Linked DNA regions of Homo sapiens: region 2 is linked to region 1. The links are contacts of gene promoters, found by promoter capture Hi-C in blood cells and fetal thymus (Javierre and others, 2016). All regions are on one chromosome and are shown on one strand. The core of a region is centred on a gene start or on the middle of the fragment in contact, and the rest is flanking DNA. Distances in the headings are between cores, read along the strand shown.

Region 1 (3,084 bases), core at 156-2,655:
CAGAAAGGCACTGAGTTCCCCTAACCCCTGGATCCAGTGGGTTCTCTAAACTCAAGGCTTGTGCCTGTTGTCTTTCTATATGAAAGGACCAATGTGGTAATGTCTAACCCTGGGTAGGGACTTCCTTCATTTCCCTGGGATATCTCTGGAGGAATCATCAGCTTCATCAACTGACTTACCCTGAAAATGCAGACAATCAGATTCCAAGACTCTCAGACAGCTCCGATTGTCTACCACTGAACCTCAAGGAACTGTCTGGGGATTTGATGACCATGAAAAATCCAAACAGCTTCTTACTCAGTACTGCCAATTCAAGTCCCACAATTTTTATAGAGCCCAGCCAAGGCAATGAAGCCTGAGGTCTGCTTGGCACTAAAAAGGAGATTATCCCAAGGGCAGGCCTCAGAAAAACAGAGAAAGAGGGTTATAGGGGCTACTCACTGTCACAGGAGATGTCACAGATGTTCCTTGACTGAGGGACCTGGCTGCTCTTGCACCAAAGCTTATTACTGATCTGGAAGAGTCCATATTCCGTGCTTTCATTGTTTTCAACTATGGCTTGTGTGTCATAACCACTGGTGTGAAACATGGTACAGATCACTGAGGGAAAGATGAGAAAGAGATACCACAGAGATGTACAGGATCTGCATAAAGGAGGAACTGTAATTCTCAGACAAAAATGCTTTCCAGCCAATCTCCAAAGATGGCAAAGCTCAGAGTTTCTTGATGAGATGGAGAATTCCAAAAAAAAATCAGACAATAAGAGAAAGAAAGGATAGGAAAATAAATGGGGCCAGGCATGATGGCTCACGCTTGTAATCCCAACACTTTGGGAGGCTGAGGAGGGCGGATCACCTGAGGTCAGAAGTTTGAGACCAGCCTGGCCAACATGGTGAAACCCTGTCTCTACAAAAAATACAAAATTAGCCAGGCATGGTGGTGGGTGCCTGTAATTCCAGCTACTTGGGAGGCTGAGGCAGGAGAATCACTTGAACCGAGGAGGCGGAGGTTGCAGTGAGCCGAGATTACACCATTGCACTCCAGTCTGGGCAACAAGAGCGAAACTCCACCTCAAAAATAAATAAATACATACATATATACATACATGAAATAAAAGAGTATGCAAATGAGCAGAAAAGAGGATGATTAGATAATTAAGTAAAAGTGGAGGGGCGAAGTGGAAGAAAGAGGGGATGGAGGAGAGAAGCGTATGAGGAATGGATGAAACACAGAGGCAGGGAACTCACATTCAGGCAAAGCGATGCCTCCATAACCATCTATGTCTTTCAGCAGCTGGGACAGCTCACATTTTGTGAATTGCTTGGCCAGGATGGCAGGGAACAGGATGCCCACCAGGAACAGAGGGACAAAGAACCTCATTTTGGCTACCCCCAAGAACCTGAAATGGAAGCATCACTCAGTTTCATTTATTTATATTCATGCAGAAAGCCTCAGGGGCTCTGGTACCAAGCCCTACATCTAGGAAGAGAATGAAGAGAGACTGGTCATGCCAAGACAGAAACGCTGAGCCTGCCAGCTTCCTTCCATAATTCACCCTACTTTTCCTTTCCCTCTCCCAGTATCTAGTCCATAGCAGGTATTGTTCTCTGGCCAGAAAGAGTTCAAACCATGATCCTGCTTCCCATTTGGCTTTGTTTAGCCCTTTGTTTCTTGTAGGGTTGGTTCTGGGAAGCACTGTCTCTGGTTACTTGAGGAACAAAGAAGGGCATGGGGGCAATATAAGAAGTGAGGCAATCAGAAAATACAATAAAGTTCTATACCGAGCTTCCCCCTTCCCCCCTAGAGACATGCAGAATGTGGAGAGGGGGTGTATGTCATCACATGCCACAGTCCCAGGATCAGAGCTGGCACTTGTCCAACCAATCCAGCCATGTAACAAGGCCCAGAATTAGTTCTTTAATATGGTAGCTCATGACTGAAGGCTCAGAAATAGGAATAGAATATGGGAACGTAGACTACAACAATCCGATATAACTTGGATCTTAAGACTTCCTACTTAAGGAAAATGCATAATTGAAAAGCCTGTATGAAAGCATCTAGGCCAGGCACAGTGGCTCACACCTGTAATCCCGGCATTTTGGGAGGCCGAGTCTGGTGGATCACTTGAGCCCAGGAGCTCGAGACCAGCCTGGGCAACATGGTAAAATCCCATCTCTACAAAAAAAATTAGCTGGGCATGGTGACATGTGCCTGTAGTCCCAGCTACTTGAGGGGCTGAGGCAGGAGGAACACTTGAGCACAGGAGGTCGAGGCTGCAGTGAGCCATGTTCACTCCACTGCACTCCATCCATCCTGGGAGACAAAGTGAGACCCTATCTTTAAAAAAAAAAAAAAAAAAAAAGAATCTAGCTATCCTACGAGCTATTATCAGATTCCCCACCCCTAACCACTCCTACCGTAAATAACCAAATACTACACTGGCATTGAGACATTACATAAATCTAAGACCAATAACTTGTAGACAACCTCAGAGTTGGCCACAGAAAGTGGGAAGGACCCAAGCCAGTGGAAAGATTGGACTTTAAGGCTGAACAAGCTTATGTCTGGAATCTCTATAAGGTCAGTGCCCCTGAGCAAGTAGAGTTGAGGATACTAGTTCTGAATAGCTCCTTTAATTTGCTGGCATGAAGCTTCATGTCATGGTGACAAGTAGCTCTTAGCTCCTTCATGCCACCATTCGTCTTCTTTGTCCTCATCTCTAAACCTGATTTCTTCTTCTTCTTCCTTTTTTTTTTTTTTTTTTGACCAAGTCTCACTCTGTTGCCCAGGCTGGAATGCAGTGGCGCGATCTTGGCTCACTGCAACCTCTGCCTCCCAGGCTCAAGTGATTCTCCTGCCTCAGCCTCCCGAGTAGCTGGGACTACAGGCACGTGTTACCATGCCCGGTTAATTTATGTATTTTTAGTAGAGACGGAGTTTCTGCATGTTGGCCAGGCTGGTCTCAAACTTCTGAGCTCAGGCAATTTGCCTGCCTGGGCCTCGGCCTCCCAAAGTGCTAGGATTACAGACAGGAGCCGCTGCGCTGTTTCTTATGTTTCAGGGAACATTTATCCCAACCAATCT
Region 2 (3,084 bases), core at 161-2,660, 330 kb before region 1:
TACCTATGTTACAAGCCTGCACATTCTGCACATGTATCCCAGAACTTAAAGTAAAATAAAAAAAATAATAATAAGATCATGCCAGTGGTTTTTAAACATACTTTATGTATTTAATTGAAAATCACATCTCCTTTACCTTCTTTCAGCATATATTGTACTTAAAACTCTGAACATTAGCCCTCAGAATAAGGAAATGAATAATAAAAAAAGCAAAAATAGAAAACTCTAAAATAACTGAAATAATCTAATCACATATAAGATGTAATGAATTTAATAAATGTGAACTTATATTTATATACAATTTATATACATATTGAAAATTAATCACTTAGGCTCACAAGAGAATTCGTTTTAGGATACTTTGTCTGCTCCCTTTAGGCCTTGATGGAATTAATGTCTAAATAGCTTTTGAGATTGTTATGGAAACTAAAAGGATACTGGTATCAAATATCTGGCTATGTCTTACCTACATTTCTTCTGGTCTTATTTATGTTGTCCCAGCCTCACCAAAAATTGAGATTTATGTTTAACCTTTTGTTTACCATGTGATGGACAAATTTGGCAAGTTTGTCAATTTATAATAGTATTTTCTATTGTATCATCTAGACCTTTTTTGAGGTAAATATGATTTCTTTCCCTTTTCTCCATCAATTCTAGATTTTGCCCTCTTGTAGTTTCTTCCACTGCAAATTCTCCGTATCTCTGCAATTGAGGAGCCCTGAACTACACTTCACATTTAATGATGATCTGACTGACACTTTGAGGGATTTTGCTTGGCATGCCACATTTTTACTGCTATCGAAAAGGCAAAAGTACATGCTCTGTTCACAAGGAAACTTCTCTAGCATCCACATGAGTGGGAGATAGCAGATAAGCTTATGGATCTCATATCCACTTATTCTTTCCACCTAAATACTTGATAGTTGTTTATCATCTTCCCTCCAGAGTCCCAATCTAAATTACAAATAAATTAAATATCAAACAAATCTTGGAATAGATTCCTTCTCCTGACAGTAGCCACCCCTAGAAGGTACTTTAAATAATTTGTAAAAACAAACAAAAAAATACCCATTCTGTCACCAAAAAAAAAAAAAAACACCCTAAAAGGTAGAGAGAAAACATAGTTGAAAAGTGACCAGTTACTCCACACATAGATTAGGACCTGCATATTAAGAGTGTGGTTATTTGTACAAGATGAATTTGTAGGAAATTGTACAGAAGGACTTTGTCATTGATGATGGCAAGACTGAGCATTAGACTGGATTTTTTCAATAGTCTTAGCAGGACTATGGTTAATGTGAACTACAGTGCTGTTTATGTTGTCTTGAAAAATTGTACTGATGGTAAAAATAAACAAAGATAAGGGGATGAGATACTGTAATCATATGGGAGATCTTGAATTAAAGAGTTATCTAATCAATGACATAAATAGTATTAGGAAGTGAAATTGATACAAACATACCTTGTTTTTTGTCCTTTGCTTTATTGCACGTCACAGATAGTTTTTTACAAATTGAAGGTTTGTGGCAACCCTGCATTAAGCAAGTCTGTTGGCACCATTTTCCCAACAGCATGTGCTCACTTTGTGTCTCTGTGTCACATTTTGGTAGGTCTCACAATATTTCAAACTTTTATTACTATTATTATTATTATTATTATTGTTATCTGTTATGGTGATCTGCCTTTAGTATTTTTGATGTTACTGTTGTAATTGTTTTGGGGCATCACGGACCACAACCATCTAAGAAGACAAACAATAAATGTATTTGTTCTAACTGCTTCACTAACTGGCTGCTCACCCTCTCTACCTCTCCTTGGCTTCCTTAGTCCCTGTGATATGGCAATACTGAAGTTAGGCCAATTAATAACTCTACAATGGCCTGTAAGTGTTCCAATGAAAGGAAGAGTCACACATCTCTTACTTTAAGTCAGTAGTTAGAAATGACTAAGCTTAGTGAGGAAGGCATGTTGAAAGCTGGGAAAGTCTGAAAGCTAGCTTCCTGCACCAAACAGTTAGCCAAGTGGTGAATGCAAAGAAAATGTTCTTGAAGGAAATTAAAAGTGCTACTCCAGTGGACACACAAATGATAAGAAAGTGAAACAGCCTTATTGCTAATAGGGAGAACGTTTTAATGGTCTGGATAGAAGAACAAACATAAAAGTGTAGGGGAAGGCAGCAAGTGCTGTTGGAGAAGCTGCGAGTTATCCAGAAGATCTAGCTAAGATCAATGATGAAGGTGGCTATGCTAAACAAAAGATTTTCAATATAGACAAAACATCCTTATATTGGAAGAAGAAGCCATCTAAGACTTTCATAGCTATAGAGGAGAAGTCAATGCATTGTTTTAAATCTTCAAAGGACAGGCTGACTCTCTTGTTAGGAACTAATGCACCTGTTAACTTTTAGTTGAAGCCAATGCTCATTCACCATTCTGAAAATCCTAGGGCCCTTAAGAATTACACTAAATCTGCTCTATCTGTGCTCTCTATAAATGGAACAACAAAACCTAAGTGACAGCACAGCTGTTATAGCCTGGTTTATGGAATACTTTAAGTCCACTGTTGAGACCTACTGCTCAGAAAAATAGATTCCTTTCAAAATATTACTACCCATTGATGATGCACCTGGTCATCCAAGAGCTCTGAGGAGATGTACAAGGAGATGAATGTTGTTTTCATGCTGCTAACATAATATTCATGCTGCTGCCCCTGGATCAAGGAGTCATTTAGACTTTCAAGTCTTATTATTTAAGAAATATATTTCAGGAGCTTCCAGATAACTGAACACACAGAGGTTCTTTGAGGGTACTGCTCCAAGAAAGAGTATGGAAGCTTCATGCCCCTTCCTATATACCTTACCATATTCATCTCTTCATTTGTTGCTCACTGATACTGTTTGTAATATCCTTGATAGTAAGCTGGTAAAGTAAATGCACACCTAACAGCATAGCAAGCCCTAGAAGGATGGCTTCTGAAGATTACAAAGAAGCCTGAAACTTGAAATCACTCCAAGGACTCTCAGCTTCTCTTTCTCTTGGGATGTTTATCTGATGCTGCCACAACCAGTAGAAAGAGTGGAGGAAG

What was found. Contacts are between HindIII fragments. The CHiCAGO score rates a contact against its expected background, and 5 or more counts as called.
Region 2: a contact is called between a fragment that was not itself captured here and the fragment with the promoter of LALBA in region 1, in 1 of 17 cell types (megakaryocytes). The highest score is 5.2, in megakaryocytes.

What each region holds. Positions count from the first base shown.
Region 1 is chr12:48,568,641-48,571,724 of GRCh38, forward strand. LALBA (lactalbumin alpha) reads right to left here and starts at 1,406. Exons shown (of 4, transcript NM_002289.3): 1 at 1,248-1,406; 2 at 442-600. The coding sequence starts at 1,380. The HindIII fragment of the contact is 2,055 bases long and covers 501-2,555 here.
Region 2 is chr12:48,240,044-48,243,127 of GRCh38, forward strand. It overlaps a transcript of LOC102725258 not described here. Among named protein-coding and RNA genes, the nearest start is that of OR10AD1, 38 kb to the left of the region's middle. The HindIII fragment of the contact is 1,075 bases long and covers 874-1,948 here.